Linked DNA regions of Homo sapiens: region 1 is linked to region 2. Evidence: promoter capture Hi-C in 16 types of primary human blood cells and fetal thymus (Javierre and others, 2016). All regions are on one chromosome and are shown on one strand. Each heading gives the region's core, a stretch centred on a gene start or on the middle of the fragment in contact. The rest is flanking DNA. Distances are from core to core; before and after follow the strand shown.

The links. Contacts are between HindIII fragments. The CHiCAGO score rates a contact against its expected background, and 5 or more counts as called.
Region 1: a fragment that was not itself captured here is called in contact with the fragment with the promoter of SNX5 in region 2 in 1 of 17 cell types (total CD4 T cells); the score reaches 6.3 in total CD4 T cells.

Annotation. Positions count from the first base shown.
Region 1 is chr20:23,372,227-23,376,308 of GRCh38, forward strand. GZF1 (GDNF inducible zinc finger protein 1) reads left to right here. Exons shown (of 6, transcript NM_022482.5): 6 at 1-836. NAPB (NSF attachment protein beta) reads right to left here. Exons shown (of 11, transcript NM_022080.3): 11 at 2,296-4,082. Among named protein-coding and RNA genes, the nearest start is that of GZF1, 12 kb to the left of the region's middle. The HindIII fragment of the contact is 157 bases long and covers 1,365-1,521 here.
Region 2 is chr20:17,966,156-17,970,203 of GRCh38, forward strand. It overlaps SNX5 (sorting nexin 5), which reads right to left and starts at 2,639. Exons shown (of 13, transcript NM_014426.4): 1 at 2,220-2,639. The coding sequence starts at 2,270. It overlaps MGME1 (mitochondrial genome maintenance exonuclease 1), which reads left to right and starts at 2,863. Exons shown (of 5, transcript NM_052865.4): 1 at 2,863-2,986; 2 at 3,646-4,048. The coding sequence starts at 3,705. RefSeq lists enhancers at 1,352-2,106, 1,968-2,017, 2,068-2,237, 2,107-2,861, 2,478-2,787 and 4 more and a silencer at 2,268-2,477. The HindIII fragment of the contact is 5,200 bases long and covers 1-4,048 here.

The DNA of each region.
Region 1 (4,082 bases), core at 193-2,692, 5.4 Mb after region 2:
TTAATAAATGTCTGCTTTGTAAAAGCAGTTTTGCAATTTTTTAAAGATCTATTTCTGTTATAATTTAGGTTCTGCAGAAATATGATTCTTAATTGAAACATATAATTTGCTTAATTACGTGAATAATGAAATGTAAAATCCGGGTCCATAAGCCTTTATTTCATACAGTCCTAGGATTAAGCTGTTTAACTGCTTGGATCCCAGTTGGTCTCTGGCAGTGGGATCCTGGAGAGGAGAAATCCTGGCCTCTGCTCATGCGCAGGCCACAACCGGGCTGGAAGTGCGGTTGAGCTCTCTGCCACTTTCTTCAATGTAAAAAGTAGGCATCAAAGATACGACTTCTACTATATACATTTCTCTGTCCCTGAGAACAGAGAAACGTAACCCTGTAGGGGACTGGTTACAGAGGACCTCCTGGAGCATCTGCCCCATTCCTCCAAGTCCAAGCACAGCCATGCTGAGTGGAAGCGAGGCCACCATCTGAGTGGATTGGTCCCAAGTGTGTAATGAGGAAAGTGGCCAGGTGCCGGCACAGTGCCTCTCCCAGAGCCTCAAGAAGGGCCATTTAGGAGCTTGCTTCAACCATTTTCCAACCATTTTCTGTGAAATGCTGTCAGCCCAAACTCCAAAGGGATGTGCAGCCTTTCGTTTTACCAAATTCTTTGCTGTCGTTTGGAAAAAATGGGCCATGTGGTGGAGACCTTTATTTAAGGTGATTTTTACAGAAATGTGATTTTGCTGTAGGTGATTATCCAAACAAGTAAATTTGAGTGTATAATTTAATTTTTAACCTGTTAAATAAACCTTGTCCCTCCAAGGAGTTCATTTTTGGGAAACAAGATGGGTACTTGTCAATTTAACCAAATGTCATGATATTCATGTACTCAGGAGTAACAATATTTCATTTGATGTGACTGAGAAAGGCACACAGGTCAGAGGATCATCTAGCACAGCAGTCCCCAACCTTTTTGGCACCAGGGACCACTTTTGTGGAAGACAATTTTCCCACAGGTGGGGGGACAGAATGGTTTCAGGATGATTCAAGCGCATTGCATTTATTGTGCACTTTCTATTATTATTGCATTGTAATATACAATGAAGTAATTATACAATGCACCATAATGTATAGTGGGAGCCCTGAGCTTGTTTTCCTGCAACTTGACAGTCCCATCTGGGGGTGATGGAAGACAGCAACAGATCATTAGGCATTAGATTCTCATAAAAAGCGTACAACCTAGATCCCGTGCACGCGCAGTTCAATAGGGTTTGCACTCCTATGAGACTCTAATGACACTGCTGATCTGACAGGGTGCACAGCTCAGGTGGTAATGTGAGCCACGGGGAGTGACTGCAAATACAGATGAAGCTTCACTGCCTGCAGCTCACCTCCTGCCGTAAGGCCCAGTTTCTAACGGGTTGGGGACCCCTGATCTATCACATCATGCTAAATGAGACTCAGAAAATCATCTGCATACCTTTGGCAATCCGTACGTGGACTCTTAACTAAGGCTGACAAAACTAAGCTTTTAAACTACCATGGTGGCATCTTCATTAGGAAATTGATTCTGAGAAGAGCCACTTGATTTAGGCTTTGAATGATCAACAACTCAGAATGCCTAGATGAGGACAGCTTGTTCTACCATTTAAAACATTTTGCTTTGACTTACCTGAAGTGTTGTGAATATACTTTAGGACCTGAAATCAAGGCTCTATGATAGGATGGTAGGATGAGCCGGTCTGCACTACCCGCCATGGGTCCTCTTCCTCATCAGAACTTCAGGCCCCAGTGGTCAGTGGGACTGACCCTTCCCCAGGGGCATCTCCTCTCCCTGTGCAGATATTTTGCAAAATTAAAATAAATGCCCACACTGACCAGATAGTTGAGTGGTACTTTCTTGGGGTAGGAGAGTGTCAGGCTTAGGGGTGCCTCACCTCCCCACCAGTCTTCCAGCAACCATGCCTTCCTCAACTTTGCAAGTAACTGTAGACCCTAAAGGATTCAAGGAAGGGATGAGAATGTGGGGTCTGCAGGGTTATCATGTACTTTAGTGGACTGCATCAACAGAAGTTACCAGGGTTTCCTTCTAAACCCTCAGTCTGCAAAACCATTACGGTGCCCTGGAATTCCCAACAAATGACCGGAGCCTAGAGAGTATTAACGTCTGTTGCCTTAATCTTAACGGGAACAACTTGAAACAATGGAAGCTACTTTTGACCTATGCCAATTTAGCAACAAGACTCATCAAAATATTACTGATAATTTCCACTTTATAGGTTAAAATAAAACAAGCATACTTTTTCTGCTAAGGTAGATTTATTGTTACACATGGTTAGTTTTCATAACGTAATCCCCTGCCCCAGAGCAACTCAGGACTCCATGGAGCAGGAAGCCTGCTCTTGGTCATAGCTCATACCACAGCAGGCAGGTCACGGGGGCATGCTGTGCTGCCAAGTCCTCCAAAGGAAGTCACAAAGGTTTGCATTTGGACATTTAAATCCACAAAATCAGGAGAAACAATAAATGCACAAGGGCTGGTGCATATACTTTGGTTACAGTGACGCCACCACACACGGTCACGACTGTGCAAAAATACTGCTTTCAAATCATTAAATAAAAAAGAACTCACACAAGCTATAAAAATGTTGCCACAAAAAGCAAAACTTTCCTCTAAGAAATATTAACTGACTTTGACTATGAACTAACTCCAGATTTGCTAAAGTACAAGAATTGTACCATAAATAATTATATTTTGTTCATAAGTAACATTCTATAAATCTTGAAGACCTAGCTCACAGGCATCTTGAAACATGGCACTGTCCTACATCCATGGGACATTTAAAGGAAGTAAGTTTGCACACCACTAACTGGGCTTTTCTCTCATTCTTTTTTTTAATCTTCTGGCAGGTCTCTTCTAGCCATTACAATTACTTTGATTCTTTTCATGTGAAATATTAAAAACAAAAATTAATTCTTAACCCCGGAACTGGTCCCAGTGTTTATTGCAATACAAACAAGTGACCCTCTAATTGACACAACAAAATGTTACAAACATTATTGTTAAAAAAAAATACCCCTTCAGACGGGTCTGTTGGAGTATAATGATGAAAGCTAAACATAATTGCCCGAAAATAAATCATGTAGTTTTTACTTTAAGTGGTCAGACCAGAAGATTCTTTAAACAAGTAGAAACAAACTACTTAAAACCAGAGGACTCAAGCTGCAGAACCACTCCTCACACCCCATTTTCACAAAAGTGCATTTGGCTGGTTGTAGGATATATTATTAGGTGGGGAAACAAAACCCCACTTTTCTCTCTGATCATTTTTTCATAAGAGATTCTAAGAGGGAGTGAAAAAGTACCAACTGGACTCCATTCCAGGTCTTACCTCTAGAAGACAGCCAGCTCTCATTTAAGAATCTCAGAACTTGGAAGGAAGGAGGAAATCCACATTAAATTCTAGGGCCCAACAGACAGAGTGTCTTCATTGCCACCCCCAGTAGTGGGGACTACAGTGCACCTGTAGTCCCAGTAGATGCTCTGACATCACAGAGCTTCCTGCTCTACCAGCCCACCTCATGCATGTCACCACCATAACTATAGCCTGCAAGTCCTCGTGGCCACCTGATGTGGATCCTCTACAGTCTGTCCTTGGCTGGCCCTTCCCACTTCCTTTCCTGCTACTTTCTCTTTCTTCCTAGACTGACCTACTCATCATTTCTCAAACAACCTGCAGTCGACCCTTGGCCTGGAAACACTACCAATTCCAGTTGAGAGCCACCAAAAATGAAAACATCATTCCAATACTACTTACTACTACCTGACATAACATAGGAAGTTTCGTTACCTGTCATCAGTGAAGCTCCGTGATGTCAGAGTGTCTGCTGGGTTAAGTCTGGCAACACATTTCAAATATAAATCATTTAACTATAAATATTCAGAGGACATTCAGGAGACAAGCGTATGTCTAAAGTACAATATCAGCATATAAATTAATAGGATCAAGTTCATGAATCAAGATAGCATACATATATTATATAAACCAATTAAACACGACAGAGTTCAAACACATAAGCCAACATA
Region 2 (4,048 bases), core at 1,389-3,888:
TAGCACTAGGCTGCGAAGGTCGAGTTCAAATACCAGCCTGGCCAACATGGTGAAACCCGGTCTCCACAAAAATACAAAAATTAGCCGGGCATGGCGGTGAGCGACTGTAATCCCAGCTACTTGAGAGGCTGAGGCAGGAGAATCGCTTGAACCCAGAAAGCGGAAGTTGCAGTGAGCTGAGATCGAGCCATTGCGCTCCAGCCTGGACGACAGAGCGAGACTCCGTCTCAAAAAAAAAAAAAAAATCAAAAACCAGTAAATAGAGGACCAGTTAGGAACCAAATTAACCATGCATCTCTTCCCCTGAACTATTTTCTGAGGAAGAAGGCAAACCCCAACACCCTCGGCTAAAGAATGTAACAAAATGCCAGTGTCTGGCTACCAGACACGACTGACACAGTATTCCCTTTCAGTTTTGCTGAATTGGCCAAAATGAGTATTGGGCTAGAATTCAAAATCCTGAAGAATCAAGTATGTCCCCCTACCTTAGTGAGTCTTAATTAACTCCATCCTTAGGGAGAATTCCAAACCAAAGTAAATTATCAGGAGGGCATTTAAACAATTTAAGTAACACACATTTCAGGTAACACACAAAACATTTCAGTTGACTACCGAAATTGTATTATGGCAAAAAGTTGCCCAAGACTTAGTTTCCCATTATTTCATACTTGCCCCAAACTCCCTTTCAGTTAACCATAACACCATCTAGGCCAGACCACAGCAGGTTATCAGCATCAGCAGAGATCAGAAAACAAAAATAAAGCCACGCGTCAGGGTAATTATTTATTTTTATTGTCTCTTTATTCCTGTAATGTAAAAAGGAAAACAATGTCATGTAACTCTCTTCGCTACAGATACGGACAGTTTCTGTAGCCTCTAAAACAGGCAGGAAATGGCCTTCATAACCATTCTCCAATTTTGCTGGAGGATCAGGGTGGTGGAAGTCATTTTAAAAACCAGCTGCAATATACTGTACTACCAGAGAGTGGGGTGAAGCAATTGAGTCCTTTTACCTAGCTGACTCCGAATCAAGACAGCTAAAAGAATGTACCAGAAAGAAAGAAAAAATAAAATGCTACCAAAATCCCAATCCATTATCTACCCTTTATGGAGAAAAGTACCTTTATAATGTTTTACAAAGAATCGTGGTCTCAAGTTTCCACTTTGTTTTAGTAATAAAGAACTTTCAAAAAAAAAACCACTCTAAACAACACCCTCCTGTATAGAAAGCTCTATTTTAATAATTAATGCAATGATACCCTTGTTGGAACAATCCAGCCGCTTTGAAACTCTGGTATTTACTTACTAGATGAACAAGTTTCTCTATGGAGGTGCCTTTAACTTCTCAAGAAATGTGTAAGTTAAGACGGCTCCAAATTACATTTTAAGAGAGCCTTGTATTTTTAGAGGTTCTTTTTCATCGGTCAGAAAAACTTACGTTGACGATTCTGCAAGAAAGGTTGCTCGCAAACCATGCATCGCAAAGCTACCGAGGCAAATTTAAAGAACCAATGAAAAAGAGTGGAGGCTCGTCTGAATCTTTAATTGGCTATGGGAATTTCAATTTATTGCATAAATAATCTTTTAGACCTCAAGATACACGTGACCTAGGGACAGTTTACATCAATGGGCAAGACTTAAAAATAGACACCAAGTTCAGCAAGTATTTGAGCACCTACTAAAAATTACACAACTCCCACAACAACGCATTTTGCGTTTCTAAAGTTGTAAGCAGCATGTTCGGACGCTTGATGCAATTTCCCAAGTTGTTTGGGCCCCCCCCCCAAAAAAGTCTTCTCAGTAAAAGGTGGGGGGAAGGAGGGTATTTTGGGGGCAACAAACCAAACTGGTCTGTCGCATGTTAAGTCAATTTCACGTTCACCTACTGGTCACCACGAAGCCGAGGAAAGTTTTAAAAAGAACATTCCGGGGTCTCCAGAGATCATCTCTCCAAGTCCGCTCGGCACCGGCGCCTGAGCTGGGGCTAAGGTCCCGCGTCTCTGGTTCTGTCCTAATAGAATCCGGGACATCCACAGGGATTCCCCGGGGCAGCCTTCAGTGAAGACCAGGGAGAGGGGCCGCCCGGGTCTCACGGGTGCTTCCCGCGCTGGGGATGGCGGCGAGCAGCCACGGCCTATGGACGCGCAAGGGAAAGAATGCAGCGACCCCGGAGCTCGCAGGGCCGCCCGCCCAGGAGTCTGAGGCTGGGAGGACCTCACCTTGCTGCGGTCCTCCTCCTGCTGCTGCAGCAACTCGGGAACCGCGGCCATGGCGACGCGGGACTCGAGCAGGGGCCGCCTGGCTGTGCGAGGAAAGAAGAAGCTGGGCCGCCGCCGCCGCCGCCTGGGCGCCTCTCGGGGGCGGCCACGGCCCCGCCTCCGCCGGCCTCCCTGCCCGACGGCGGCAGGAGGCCTCCGGACTCCGCCACCATCCCAGCTGCCCCGGGAGCAGGCGAGCAGGGCGCCACGTGCTCCCCCAGAGCAGCCTCCCAGTCCCCGCTGCCGTCCATCTTGGAGCCGGGCAAAGACGCCACGTGGGGCCTACCCTTGCTCCGCTCCACGAGGAGGCCGCCAACCGCAGGGCCGCGACACGGACGGGAAGCAACGGACACTCTCCCAGCAAGACGCGTCTAGAGAAAGACCGCGTTTCGGTGCGGGGGGAATTTATTACTCAGCCCGAGTCCAAGATGGCAGCGAGCGCTGACGTCACCAGATCTCGTGAGAGCAGAAGGGCGCGATTTGGAGGCTCCCGCGCTTCGGAGACGCCGGCCCTTCCGCTCGGAGAGGTACTCCCTGCCTCTAACTGGTGGCGCGTTGGCGGAGGCCGACGAAAGCCTCGGGTGGGGCGTGAGCGCCGCGGGGCATTCTGGACCTGCTTTGCCTTAGGCTGTGCCTAATTCGAAACCAAAGCGCGGGACGGATGAAAGTACGGGTCGCGAGAGGTTGTTCGCGCCTTGAGAGTTAAGCGAAGTGTGGTGGCTTCCAAGGTACCGACACTTGCCGTAGGCTGGGCTTTTATTTAAGTCGTCTTTTCTCTAATCCAGACTCCTGCCACAGGGGCCACCGCCGTCCTGGCCCCGCCAGGGGTCCGCACCCACGGCGGAGCGGGAGGCGACTTTTTGCGGTCACAGTAATGGGACCTCAGCGCCGCCACCAGCTCTGACCGGCGAGCGACGGGACCCTCCAACCCGATTTCCACGTCTGTGCAACGGGTTCATTCTAGACCCACGGTAGAGGGTGTGAGGACCAAATGAGAAGTATCCACACAGAATACTTAGCAGAGAGCCTGGTGTCTAGGAATTAGTCGTCGTCTGTCACCTAGGACTGTGTGGCCGCCATGGGACGGGCTCCATCTTTGTGTTTTTCCGTGTCTCGCACACGCCTCCCTTCCTGGGCGTCACATTCCTGCAGATTAGAAACTGGGACGTCTTGCCTCAAGCTGTCTACTAATTCGCATTTAGTATGTGTCGGTCCTTCGGGTATTGAGTCTTGATTTATTTATAAATTTTTTTTGGAGGCAGGGTCTCGCTCTGTCGACTTTCTTAAGAAAGGGCTCTGTCCAAACATGTCGAAAAAGTTCACAATTTTGATGTGCAATATCATTCTGATGCAGCTTTCGCTTTGATGGTTGTTTTCTCTCCAATAGGAATACAAACATAAAGGCCTTCGACCGTTGCAAATAGACTAAAGTGAAAACAAATCTGAATGAAGATGAAGTTATTTCAGACCATTTGCAGGCAGCTCAGGAGTTCAAAGTTTTCTGTGGAATCAGCTGCCCTTGTGGCTTTCTCTACTTCCTCTTACTCATGTGGCCGGAAGAAAAAAGTGAACCCATATGAAGAAGTGGACCAAGAAAAATACTCTAATTTAGTTCAGTCTGTCTTGTCATCCAGAGGCGTCGCCCAGACCCCGGGATCGGTGGAGGAAGATGCTTTGCTCTGTGGACCCGTGAGCAAGCATAAGCTGCCAAACCAAGGTGAGGACAGACGAGTGCCACAAAACTGGTTTCCTATCTTCAATCCAGAGAGAAGTGATAAACCAAATGCAAG